Regions from separate parts of the Homo sapiens genome. Here region 2 is linked to region 1. The links are contacts of gene promoters, found by promoter capture Hi-C in human tissues and cell types (Jung and others, 2019). All regions are on one chromosome and are shown on one strand. Each heading gives the region's core, a stretch centred on a gene start or on the middle of the fragment in contact. The rest is flanking DNA. Distances are from core to core; before and after follow the strand shown.

Region 1 (7,057 bases), core at 1,597-4,096:
GTCTCCAGATAAAGGTGACTGTACCTTCTATGCCTGCCCAGGGCCTGGCAGGTACAGAGCCTCTGGAACTCAATGCACATCCTCTGGACACTTAAGAACATTCCAGCATTGCACAAGAATGCATTCCCATTCAGTTCACATGAGTATGCTTGTACAAACTACACAATGCTCATGAGCAGGTATGTTTTTCAATTGCTTTCAGGGAGACACACTCTGTTTGGGGGCATTTCATTGGCAGAACAGATTACAATGGTTAAATCTGATGTGAAATATATTATGGAAGCCACATTTCCCTGAGAACTCACTAGATCCAGGAGGCTGGTCAACATGTGATTCTGACTGAGGTTAGGACCAGTCATCCCAGGAGCCTAATTTATCAGAGGCCAATAGTCATTCCTGGTTCCAGGTGATCACTAGAGCTTAGGAACCAAACCAACCCCAAGGGTAACTGACTTGTCACTTTTTTTTTTTTTTTTTTTTTTGAGACAGGGTCTTGCTCTGTCACCCAAGCTGGAGTGCAGTGGCGTGATCATGGCTCACTCCAACCTCTGCCTTCTGGGCTTAAGCAATCCTCCCACCTCAGCCTCCCAAGTAGCTAAGACTACAGGTGCATGCCACCAGGCCCAGCTAATTTTTGTAGAGACGGAGTTTCACCATGTTGCCCTGGCTGGACTTGTCACTTTATAAGTAGCTCAGACGAACTGAGTATGAAATACCAGTGGCTAGAGCTAATAATAACATAAAAGTTAAACCTGTCATAAAGTGTCTTATGTAGGTGAAAACAGAGGTGGAAATTAGCAACTGTCTTATGGAGGAGCGAAGCTGACAACGCTGGAGACAATCGCTTGCTTCACCAAAGGGCCTTGACTACCGCCTACCCCAGTCCCGCCCCCAGCTTTAGGAAATGCCGAGGTCACATCTAGGGGGTCAGTTTCCACCAGAGCACGAGGCTTGCCCAACACCTCCCTCCCCAGAGGCTGGCAGACCTCAAAAACCCCAGAGCATGAAAGCCCCATGCCTCCCACCCCGGCAGAAAAAGGACAAACTACACCATAAACTACAGAGAGAAGCTAACTGGCTGCTGGGCAGTGTGAACAGACCTAAGGGTGAAAACCATTGCCCGAAACATTTTCAGCCCCACTCAGCAGGGACATGTGATTTACAGGAAATTAGGAGGTTTACAAAATGTTAGCAGCTCAAGTTTCTTCCCCGGGAAAAGAAGCAGGAGAAGCTCTAAGAACCGTATCCGAGAAAGTGCTTTGTTCACTGCTAAGCTTCTGACACGAGTCAGTTATTAATACCCACAGCTCACTGCCTCACACTTCAACCCACCAGTGAATGTCTATAGTGAATAATTATAAAACAATATATTACAAAACTCTAACACAGGCTGCACCAGAGCCTTCCGAAGCCCAGGACAGCCACGTGGCCAAAAGCATGGACTTCAGATATGATCTTGGGCAAGCTGTTGGCTCTTTTTCACCCCAGTTCCTCCATCCTTTACAATAAACAAAATCCTTCTGGAGGTGTCTTGTCAAGAGGTGTCTTGTCAAATGATGAGCAAATCCACTTCAAGTGCCTGGTCTTTGGAAGCCCTGTTGGTTGCTGTTATTACAGTGGAGTTTCAGAGCTCTTAAAGTCATATCTCCATCTTACTTCTGCTGCCAGACAAACCTCTGGAGGCCACGATTCCGAGCCTTGTCAGCCACCCTCTCTGGTCAGGTCCAGGACAGAGTGAGTCCTAGAGGAGCAAGGCCAGGGAGGTTCCACACCATCAGGGGCCATTGGGGAGTAGGGGCAATGGCAGAGCTCTATGATCAAGGCCCCAGTGGCCTTGATGGACTCTGTCCACCTCTCCAGACTCCACTTTGCCCCAGGCCAGAACAGACCTCAGCTCTAGCCAGAGTCTAACTGGGTGTCCAGTGTATACGCTGCGGCCAGCCAGACATTAACTCCTCTAGGCGGCCTTCTCTCACCTCCCACTCTGCAGTAGGGACCCCTAGGGGCTCCCACAACCCCTGGGCTTACCGAATCTCAGCACTTACCACACTGGCTTGTCACTTTGTGCTCTTGTCTTCCCCGCAGGGCAGGACTGGCACCGTGTCTGATGCCTCAGCCAGATCAGTTCAATGCATGAGCCCAGGCCCTAGTTGTGACCACAGCTCCAGCTCCCCAAACCTCCGGGGGCAGTGAAGGGTTGTTTATGAAGCAGGCTGCGTTTTATTATTCAGATGAATTTGTCAACTCCCTGGCGGATCCCTCCCCTCGTTAACGCCATCTTAAGGCGGGGGGGTAAAGAGTCCCCCACCCACCCACCCATCCCCCGCCGCCCCGTCCTGCCGCCCATCTATCCACCGGGTTCTCGCCCAGGCAGCCAAGGAACTGTAATTACCATGAAAGGGTCTCTCTGAGCGGCGCGCAGGCCCTCCCCACTGGGGTCTTGGTCGTGGCCGATTTCACGAACGCACACCGTTACGCGGGAGCCCGCGATGGGGGCAAAACGCCACGCACAGCCGGTCCCAGGGCGCACCCCGCAAGCGGAGAGCGCGGCCGAGCCCGGAGGGCGGCCACACCTCCCGCCCCGGAACAAAGCGACGGCCGGGGCGAGAGGCGGCGCGGCCGGGCCCCCTCCCCTCCAAGGCCGCCCGACCACTCACCGCGCGCTCCAGCCCCGGCTCGGCTACGGCACTCAGGCCGCCCCCTCCTAGCCTGCGCCGGTGAGGAGGCAGCGTCGCGCCCGCCGGGCCCCGCGGCCGCCGGACTGACGGCTCCCCGCCAGCCGGCCACTCCGGTCCGTCCCCGCCCCGGCGCCTCCTTAAAGCGACCGCGCCGCCAGCGTGCGCCCCGAGCGCCTAGCGCGCCGCGCATTCCTTATATTGCCACAGCGCCTGCTAAAAATAGAGCGCCGCTGCGGGCGCGCCAGTGGGGAGCCCGGGCCGGGTGCCTCGACCCTGTCGCCCCCGCGTGCACCCCGGCCCCCAGGACGCGCGCCTACGAAGTCCAGCCCACCCGCGCCGAGTCCCCTGGGCCCGGCAGGGCGCGCTAGAGCGCCAGGGGCTGGGGTCGGCGCCGCAGCCTCTCCCGCGGCCCAGCACTTACCCGGGTCAGATCCGTGGTGCCGGGGAGCTGGCTTTAAGGTGGACGCCGAGTGGGAATTCGACTCGGCCTCTTTAAGAGCCTCTGCGCTCCAACCTTTAAATCTCCGCTCCGGCCGGGCCAACTTCTGAGCCTAGGGACGCCTCCCCAGTCCTAGGCGAACCTCCGCCGCCACCTTAGCTGCATTCCCTTCGAATCCTGAGACGTCTTTCTTCCAGATCATGCCCCAGCGTCTCTCCCCGCAGGCCTTCTGGGTGCACCGTTCCAGGGCCCAAACTTCGTTGGGATGGATGCGACGGGGACAGGCGACACTCGCGCACCATTTCATTGTTTCAGTTCCGCTAACTCCTCTCCAGCGGCGTCATTTTCCCCCCGTTAAAAAAATAAAGATATAATTCAACACCATAAAATTCCACCTTTTGAAGTGTACAATTCAAGCCGGGCGCGGTGGCTCACGCCTGTAATCCTAACACTTTGGGAGGCCGAGGCGGGTGAATCGCCTGAGGTCAGGAGTTCAAGACCAGCCTAGGCAACATGGTGAAACCCCGTCTCTACTAAAAATACAAAAGTCAACCCGGCATGGCGGCACGTGCCTGTGATCTCATCTACTCGGGAGGCTGAGGCAGGAGAATCACGTGAACCCGGGAGGCAGAGGTTGTAGTGAGCCGAGATTGCGCTACTGCACTCTAGCCTGGGCAACAGAGTGAGACGCTGTCTCAAAAAAAAAAAAGTGTACGATTCAGTGGTGTTTAGCATATTCACAAAGTTTTGCAACCATCACCATGAGCTAATTCCAGAACATTTTCACCACTTCCCACTCCCCTCCCCTGCCCCTCACAAAAAGAACTACCCGTTAGCAGTCACTCCTCATTCACCCCTTTCCTCCGCCTCTGGGAACCACTAATCTACTTTCAATCTCTATGGATTTCCCTATTCAGGACATTTTCTATAAACGGAATCATACAACATGTGGCCTTTTGTGACTATGACTAGCTTCTTTCAGTAACCAATGTTTAATGATCTATTCATGTTGTAACATGTAGCAGTACTTCATTCCTTTTCATGACTGAGTAATATTTCACTGTATGTCTATACGTTTTGTTTATCCCTGCATCACTTGATGGATATTTAGTTTTCTGCTTTGGGGCTACTGTGAATAAAGCTGCTATGAATATTCATGTACAAGTCTTTGTATGAACATATGCTTTTCTTTCTCTTGGGTATATACCTAAGAGTGGAATTCCTGGATCATATGTTAACTCCATGTTTAACTTTTGGGGGAACTGCCAAACTGTTTTCCAAAGCAGCTGCACCATTTTACATTCCCACCAACAACATATGAGGGTTCCAATATCTCCACATCTTTGCAAACACTTGTAATTGTGTGTCTTTTTTTATTCTAGTCATCCTATTGGGGGCGAAATGGCATTTCATTGTGGTTTTGATTGTCAGCATCATTTCTGAGGACATTCTTTTTCTGGGTGGACCTCAATGACTTAGAACCAGCTTTACATGTCCAGGGAACCCACTCCCTTCTCAGGTTTGCCCCAGGCCTAAGGGAGCCTCACAGTGCTGCTGGCTCTGCCTGCCATGCTGAGGCTCTTAATCCCATGCAGGCTTCCTTTGGCATCCCAGCCACCCATGCAGCCATTTGGTGGGAGCTGCTGTGCACCCCCTGTGCCTCCACTCCCACCTGCTGCTCCAAAGACCCTGTAGACCCCAAGTGTCCCCCAGGAAGGGGACAGCAGGTTGGGTGCCATCAAGAGTATCTCTCCTTGGCAGTAGGGAGTAAAAGACCTGGTTGGGGAGAAGGCTTGAGGGACAGTAGTTTACCTCGACTGTCTAGGTTTGCCCTGGAACCTGACTCCCTCAACCCCCTCTATTTACCACAGAACTTGGGAAGGCGGGCAGGGATCTGTACATCCTGGTGGCCTGTCAGCCCCTCGTGGGCTCCCCATGTAAGAGATGTCCTCTCTTGGGCCCTGACTGGCACAAGACCCTGACCATGCCCTCAGCTTGAGCTGAGCCAACATCTATGCAAGAGTCAAAGAGATGTCTTTATACTGCTTTTATACACATATCTGTAATAATACCTCTTCTCAGAAATGGAACTTAAACAGCTAATAGTCATACCCAGGTACCTGGGATTCTCCTTTTTTTTTTTTTTTTTTTTTTTTTTTTTTGAGACAGAGTCTCGCTCTGTCACCCAGGCTATAATGCAGTCGCATGATCATAGCATCATAGCTCACTGCAGCCTCGACCTCCCGGACTCAAGACATCTTCTTACCTCAGCATCCTGAGTAGCTGGGACTATAGGTGTGCACCACCATGCCTGGCTACTTCTTGTACTTTTTGTAGAGATGTTCCCGAGGCTGATCTCGAACTCCTGGGACTCAAGCAATCCACCTATCTGGGTCTCCCAAAGTGCTGGGATTACAAGTGTGAGACACTGTGCTTGACCTACCTAAGATTGCCTAATGGTGAGAGTAAATCTTGCAGATTGCGATTGCGGATGGGCTGTTCCATTTGAGCTGCCTCCTCTGCTCTTTGAACCTTGAAATACAAGTTGTGGCTCAGTTGCTGGCAAATGGGGGCTTAGAGAACAGAGCCACTGAGCAGAAAAGCTTCATTCATCCAGTAAACACTGCCAGAGCATCTACTGAGTACCGGGCACTGGGGCAGAGACCTGCCTTCAAGCAAGCTGAGTGCCAACTGAGGAGCAAGTGGTGTGGAACAGAGAAGCACAGGGACTGTGGAAGACCAGAGGAAGGGCACCTAATCCAATATGGCGAGGAGGCAAGTGCCAAGGGAAGGACTTCTGTGAGAGCTGATGACTGAGCCACATCTGGAAGGACAAATAACAATTAGCTAGGGCCGGGTGTGGTGGCTCATGCCTGTAATCCCAGCACTTTGAGAGGCCAAGGCAGGCAGATCACAAGGTCAGGAGTTCAAGACCAACCTGGCCAATATGGTGAAACCCCGTCTCTACTAAAAAAAAAACAAAAATTAGCCAGGTGTGGTGGCGGGTGCCTGTAGTCCCAGCTACTAGAGAGGCTGAGGCAGGAGAATTGCTTGAACCCGGGAGGCGAAAGTTGCAGTGAGCTGAGATCCTGCCACTGCACTCCAGCCTGGGGGACAGAGTGAAACTCCATCTCAAAAAACAAAAATTAGCTAGGCTGAGAAGGGAAGGAGAAAACCTTATATGCTGAAGGATGATTGAGCAGAAGTCTTTCCAAAGTCTCTGGCAGATGTGCCTGGCTGATCAGGTGTGTTTGAGGCATGGCAGAAGGCCAGACACCTAGCCAAAAACCCAGGCAAGGCTCAGGCCCAAATTTAATCCACAGAGGTCCAAGGTCAGACACAGGGCCAGGAGCCAATTTCTGGCTAAAGTCAGAGCCACTGAACTGACCCAGAGCAGGACAAAACAAACATACTTCATCCACTGCAACATGTCCTACACTTGCCTCTCTGCCCTGAGGCTTGCTGAGTGCCATGCCTCAGAGCCAATCCAAACTGGTGCCTAGTTCAGCAGCAAACGTGGGGGCTTGGGACCTTGGGGCTGGAAGTCAACCAGGTCATTGTGGCCCAGCCTTCCTCTAGAACTCCCAGCTTCAGGCCAGACGCGGTGGCTCACATCTGTAATCCCAGCACTTTGGGAGGCCGAGTCAGGTGGATCACCTCAGGTCAGGAGTTTGAGACCAGCCTGACCAACATGGTGAAACCCCACCTCTACTAAAAACACAAAATTAGCCAAACATGGTGGCGCATGCCTGTAATGCCATCTACTTGGGAGGCTGAGGCAGGAGAATCACTTGAACCCAGAAGGTGGAGGTTGCAGTGGGCCGAGATCGCACCATTGCACTCCAGCCTGGGCAACAAGGGTGAAACTCTGTCTCAAAAACAAACAAACAAACAAACAAACAAAAAACCTCCCAACTTCAGTGTATTCCCTAAGGGTAAA
Region 2 (7,057 bases), core at 2,264-4,763, 320 kb before region 1:
TGCGTGACTTTATTCATTTCCTTATATAGTTAATAATACTCAGTTTTGAATTCATTATTGATGGATAATTATGTTTTCTGTAAAGGTCCTTTGCTCCCTGGGTTGTGAATGGATCTCTAAAAATGAGTTTGTATTTTGTTTGAGCTGTTGCCAAAGGCCTGTACACACAATCAGCCAGTTTTTATGTTAACTCCCTGCCTTCAGACCATCACACCTCATAGATAGTTTATATTTAGATCTCATAAGAGAGTGTGGGAAGGCTTGAAGTTTTGCACTTACATGAAACTTTTTTTTTTTCTTGCCTACCCAGTTTCTGGGGTAGATGGGAAACTTTCATGCCACATCATCTGATCAATGAAAAGATATTTCGAGTTCCAGTCCTCCCAGACCTCAGTTTTGTGTAGTGTGGGATATGATGAGGTTCCTCTTCAAATAATCTGATCAATCTTTTGTTCGTTAATTTATAGAACCCCCCCACTTTTTTTCTCCTTTTTCTCCTTTTTTTTCCTTTTTGCCTTTGTTAGATCCCCAGGCACACCACAGTACCAAGCGTTATCAGTACCAGCTCACATTCCTTTCCTTATTTAGAAAGAGGACTAACTTTCTAGCTCATTACAGACACCCCTTCCCCTTTCTCTCCACTTTTTCTTCATGTGCCCACCCTATCTAAAAAAATTCAGATGTTTAGCCAACCAGGATTAGTTTAGATTGTACAACCCAACCCCAGCCAATGGGGAAAGAATGCAGAGGCAGGACTTGCGTCAGGAATAAAGGCTGTCGTGCCCCTTTGTTCAGGTGTGCTCTCATGGCAACTGGCCAAGGAGGCACCCCTCTACGCAGAAGTAAAATTGCTTTGCTAAGAATCCTTTGTTCAAGTGTTCAGTTTCCTTAGGATTTTGAGTGTTATTCCTAACAGTTCTTTGTCGGGTCCAGATCCTACCTCATGGGCCTAAGTCCGTGACTGTTTTTGGTGGGCATTGAAATGTCAGCCAAGTCTAACTTCCTGAGCCACTGCTGTGAGAAATCTCTATTTTTGGAACCTAGAGGTCTTTTTTTCTTTCTTTTTTAACCACACCTATTTATAAAACCTTTGGACTTCATCATTTTTTTAATGTGATTTAGTATCTGCAACAACCTTAGTCTACAAGGTTGCTGGAAACGGTTAGACGTGTGATCGACTTTGTTCCTGCAAGATTATAATATCTCCTGATTAATTTCTTAAGTTTCAGTTATAGTCTGTTATTATGAAACATATGTGTATATATATTTTTAAAACTTGCAACCCTTGCTGTTTATTGACTGAACCAGGCATTGTATTAAGTTCTTCTCGTAAGTAATATCGTATAGGCTTACATATCTATGGGGCTATGTTATTTCTTTTTAACACATTAAAAATTAAAATGCTAGAGGTTTTAAACAAAGGTTACAGAAATATTAAATGGCAGAGCTAAATTCAAATCCAGGACTGTCAGACTCTAAATTAATGCCTGTTTATTATTTTACCAGTCTGGCTAAGTGAGAAAATAATGTGGTAAGACATGTCTAGTACTACTCTTTGTTTATCAGAGTATAATGGTGCCTAAAATACCTAAATTTCCTTTTTTTTAAAAAAAGAAATAATTTTTTATTTTTAGGTTTTTCCAAGTTACACTTTCCAGTAGTGTAAAGGTAGAAAGAGCAATTTGGGATTGTAGCTGTGATTAGAATAAAGAAAAGAGATCATAATTCATCTAAAAAGGACACTGTGGCTACTACAGGTGACAGATTTTTTTCTTTTAAATTAGGAGGAATTTCTAATGCAGCTGTGTAAAAATAGAATTAGTAGCTTTGAATAGGTAGCTAGTTTTTCAAACACTCATAAGGTATACTGCATAGATAAGAGGAATAGGTCATTAGAATAAACTGTCTGCTTGAGGACCATAAACCCAGTTGGACCTGGGCTACCTGTTTTTGTAAATGAAATTTTATTGGCACACAGCCACTTGGTTACATATTATGTATGGCTGCTTTTGTGCTGCAACTGCAGAGTTGAGTGTTTAGTCTGTAGTGCCTAAAATATTTATTATCTGGCTCATTCTGGGAAGAGTTTACCAACTCCTCCTATATAAAGTAAGCCCCCAGGAATATGTTTTTACTTGACTGATCCCACAAAAAAGGAGGGAAACTTTAAGCTGAAGTTTAGTAACTCATTTGTTCTTTCCAAGGTTAGCACAGAAGCTACACAGTGGTCTCCTTTGCTAATTAGTAGATTCAGGCCATATCATGAGCTTCATTTAGTTATGAAAAGCTAAGCTAAAGACTGTTTCCTGGCATTCTTAGTTCCATCAGCCTAATTGAAAACCCCAACCAAGTTATTCTCTCTTAGTTTTGATTTTATTTATCTAAATGTAAAGCACATTTAGCATCAAATGAAGTTCATTGTGACCTCAGACAATGGGAGGCACCCACATGTGGGAGTGCTGGAAATAAACCTAGTGTCTAGCTGATGGGAAGCATTGTGCGAAGAAAAAGGAACTTGTCTGTCCAGTGAGATCTTTGCTGACTTTTTGTACTTTGACCCCATGTTTTTAAAAAATGAAGGACTTTAATTTTTTTTTAAGTTCATTTCCAAACTGGTACCTTTTTCTCACCAAACCTTTTTTACTGTTTCTATAAATATATGTGCTCCAATGTTTCTATTTTGTTTGTTTTTTCTTTCGGCCAGCTGTTTAGGTTAAAGTGGGTCATGTAGCACACACTCTTTTAAGGTCAATCCCAAATCTTGAGGTACCTTCTGTACATTACTGTTTTAGTACTTGTAACAGTGCCATGTTTGCATGAATGAAAATACATAATGCTCATTTTCATTTTTCTATGACGTTCCAAAATACTCTTTTGATACCTTTCATGTCAGCTTAGATCATTTATAAGACATTGATGTGTTAGGACTCCCTGACCTCCTTTGGTGAAGAAGTAATAAGCAAATCTTATAGGCTGGCTACATATAAACCTATCTGGCCGTGGGTAGATTTGCCAGTCCTCTGCACACCCCCACTCTACCCCAACAAATACATGTGAAATCAATTTTTTGACAGTTGCCTCCATTAAGACTTCATATCTGAATTACACTAATGGAGTTTACATTTTACATCCCCCCCCCCTTTTTTTTTTTTTTTTTTTGAAACAGGGTCTCACTGTATCACCCCAGCTGGAGTGCAGTAGCACAATCATGGTTCACCGCAACCTCAACTCCTTGGGCTCAGGTGATCTTCCATCTCAGCCTCCTGAGTAGCTGCCACAGGCACCTGTCATCACACCTGGCTAATTTTTTTACTTTTTGTAGAGACAAAGTTTCACCATGTTGCCCAGGCTGGTCTTAAACTCCTTGACTCAAGCAGTCCGCCCACCTTGGCCTCCCAAAGTGCTAGGATTACAGGCGTGAGCCACCGCACCTGGCCTACTTCCCTTTTAAGAGACCTATACAAAAGTTATTTAATGATAGTGGTGTCAGCATCTCAGAGGGTTGGAGGAAGAAGGTGGAAATAATGCAAGCATTAGGTAAAAGATTTAAACTTTTCTCCTTTGGAAGCCATGGCTAAGGTACTACTCAGACTTTGGTCATTGTGTCAGAGTCAGAATCAGAGATAAGAAAGATAAATACCACATAATATCACTCATAAGTAGAAGCTAAATAATATATACACATAGAAGCAGGGTGTGGGTTGATGGGTAGTGGGGACTTAGAGGGATGGCATGGGTGGTTGATGGCAGGTTGCTTGGTGAGTACAATGTGTGTTGCTACAGTGATGGATGCACTGAAGGCCCTGACTTCACCACAGTGCAATATATCAATGTAGCAAAATTGTACTTCTACCCCATGAATATATACAAGTTGTAAAACAAATTTTTAAAGCCAGATAACTTGCTATATACCTGTTTAGAGTAAGGATATGGAGCTGCCATCCCCGTGTTGTAGAATTTATTTCATTTTTAAATGTTTGATTTAGTGTGAAAGGTAACAGATTGCTACTTCAGTCAGAGAGTCTGAGAAAGGAGGGTAAACATTACTGAAATTGTAGTCTTGGCCTTTGTAAGAAGTGTAGAAGTTGAGTGCAGAGGGTACCTAGGTGAGATGATTAGGGCTCCAAGAGTTTGTCCCCAGCTTGACTTCTGTCAAACTCTCTGAGAAGGATGTTTTTTCCTTCTCATTGTGAACATTCTACCCTCAAGGCACTGAAAGCTTTCATCGTTGCCTGCTTTTGAAAAGGAAGTTATTGGACTTCTGCCTACCTTGGCTGCAACTGGAGTGAGAGGAGATGCAGGAAAGTGAGAAAGTGCACTTTAACCTGGCAGTGTTTGCTTTACATGTGTTATGTCATGATAAGAATAAGGGGTCTCATTAAAAACATTAATGCTGCATTAGGAGAATGCTTCATTCTCTTATTTTGTATTTTGACAGTTCTGCCCCCAACCTCATTTTGCTAGAACTAGAAAAGTGCTTTTATTATTATTTTTTTCTGAGATGGAGTTTTGCTCTTATTGCCCAGGCTGGAGTGCAATGGTGCAATCTCAGCTCGCTGTAACCTCCGCCTCCTGGGTTCAAGCAATTCTCCTGCCTCAGCCTCCTGAGTAGCTGGGATTACAGGTGCCTGCCACCATGCCTGGCTAATTTTTTGTATTTTTAGTAGACACAGGGTTTCAGCTTGTTGGCCAGGCTGGTCTCGAACCCCTGATCTCAGGTGATCCACCTGCCTCGGCCACCCAAAGTGCTGGGATTACAGGCATGAGCCACCGTGCCCGGATGAAAAGTGCTTTTAAAAAAGCATACCCCGTCTCTACTAAAAATACAAAAAAAAAAATTAGCCAGACATGGTGGCAGGCGCCTGTAGTCCCAGCTACTCGGGAGGCTGAGGCAGGATAATGACGTGAACCCGGGAGGTGGAGCTTGCAGTGAGCCGAGATTGCGCCACTGCACTCCAGCCTGGGCGACAGAGCGAGACTCTGTCTCAAAAAATAAATAAATAAATAAAATAAAAATAAATAAAAAAGCATAAAATAATTCAATTTTTTTGAAGGACTTTTAGAAACTGTTTAATTTTAGAAACTATCTGATTGTGATACATGCTAACACACTCATATACTCCCTCCTCCCCACAACACACACACAGCCTCTCTTTGTCGCTCATAAAGTCCTTCGGAAGCTTTCTCAGTGCTTTTAGGAGTATGACAGAAGTCCTTACATGGCCAACAGGAACCTGCATGGTCTTTTCACCACTTACTGTGTCTTCCTCATCTTTCTGTTGTGCTCCCCCTTGTGCTCTCCTCCAGCCCTGCTGTCATTCCTCCACATGGAAGTCTTTTTTTTTTTTTTTTTTTTTTTGAGACAGAGTCTCGCTCTGTCGCCAGGCTGGAGTGCAGTGGCGCAATCTCGGCTTACTGCAACCTCCGCCTCCTGGGTTCAAGCGATTCTCCTGCCTCAGCCCCCCAAGTAGCTGGGACTATAGGAGCACACCACCACGTCCAGCTAATTTTTGTATTTTTAGTAGAGACAGGGTTTCACCATGTTGGCCAGATCTGCTGACCTGGTCGTGATCTCCTGACCTTGTGATCCACCCACGTTGGTCTCCCAAAGTGCTGGGATTACAGGTGTGAGCCACCGCACCCGGCCAGGAAGTCTTTTTTGACTCCTGCCATGTTCTCCTGGCACTTCTTCCTTATACAGAGATCACACATGCACATTGTACATTTGCTCAGTGAGTGTAGGGACTGCTGCTCTGGTTTTCTTGTTTGTTTGTTGCTTATTTCTGTATCACCAGGATCTAACACAATGCTTGGTTAGCTGTACCCGAGTATTTACTGAGTGCATGAATTCCATCCATTGTATTTTCTGTAGCTACCTGATCTTTATTTGAACCTTTCAAGATATCTCATTCCATTTTGGTGTTCTTATTATAATAGAAATTAGAGAAAATATTTGCAACCAAAATGAGAAAAAGGTAATATTAATATACAAAGAGCTCATATAAGTTACTGAAGAAAATGTCTAAAGCCCTAATAAATAGGCAAAGAATGTAAATAGCTAAGTCACAAAAGAAATCTTAGAATGCTTAAAAGATCCAGGTGCAATGGTTCATGCCTGTAATCCCAACACTTTAGGAGGCCAAGGCAGTAGGATCACTTGAAGCCAGGAGTTACAAGCTTAGCAACAAAGCAAGACCTCATCTCTACAAAAAACAAAAAAATAAAAAAACTAGCCAGGCGTAGTGGCACTCACCTGTAGTCCCAGCTATTCTAGAGCCAAGGGAGGGAGGATTGCCTTGAGCCCAGGGATTTGACGCTATGGTGAGCTATGATCGTGTCACTGCACTCAGCCTGGGCAATAAAGAGACACACTGACTCTTAAAAAAAATGGCCAAAAGAGATCTGAGAATAATTATCTTTACTAGGCATCAAATAAGTGCAAATCAAAGCAAACTGCCACCTATTAATTGAGCAAAACATTTAATTGATAATCTATTTTTCAGAATGTATTGGTCTAGTTAGAATATCAATTCTTACCTTTCTGACAGATGACTAGTCCTTTGTAAATACCCAGTCACCTCTTTTCAGTTAAAGTTGCTGTCTCCAAGGAGTTTGCAATCTAATTGGGGAGGTAAAATCTCAACTCAAGAAATGAGAAGTCAGCATGAAAACCCATTGATGTCGTATTGCTTTTGCTGCTCTGATGTGGTGGCTCACACCTGTAATCCCAGCACTTTGGGAGGCTGGGGTGAGAGGATCACTTGAACCCAGGAGTTCAAGAGCAGCCTGGGTAACATGGCCAAACCCTGTGTCAAAAAAAGTTTTTAAAAATTAGCCCGGCGTGGTGGCACATGCCTGTAGTCCCAGCTACTCAGGAGGCTGAGGTGAGAGGATGGCTGGAGGCTGGCAAGTAGAGGCTGTAATGAACTGAGATGGTGCCACCAGAAGGACGGAGTTTCCCTTAACCAAGATAATATGTATAGTGGCTAGTCTGGCACATGGCACTTACTGGGTATTCCATAAAGAGTAGTTTATTTCCCCAAAATGTAGAGTAAGA

Evidence for each region. The method cuts DNA at HindIII sites, captures the fragments that hold promoters and counts their contacts. A contact is called where the count stands out against the background at its distance.
Region 2: a contact is called between a fragment that was not itself captured here and the fragment with the promoter of MRAS in region 1, in 2 of the 25 tissues and cell types used here (liver and thymus).

Annotation. Positions count from the first base shown.
Region 1 is chr3:138,344,368-138,351,424 of GRCh38, reverse strand. MRAS (muscle RAS oncogene homolog) reads right to left here and starts at 2,846. Exons shown (of 6, transcript NM_001085049.3): 1 at 2,658-2,846. RefSeq lists an enhancer at 2,379-3,334. The HindIII fragment of the contact is 6,288 bases long and covers 595-6,882 here.
Region 2 is chr3:138,665,510-138,672,566 of GRCh38, reverse strand. The region is part of intron 19 of PIK3CB (phosphatidylinositol-4,5-bisphosphate 3-kinase catalytic subunit beta); the gene reads left to right. Among named protein-coding and RNA genes, the nearest start is that of FAIM, 60 kb to the right of the region's middle. The HindIII fragment of the contact is 4,333 bases long and covers 1,347-5,679 here.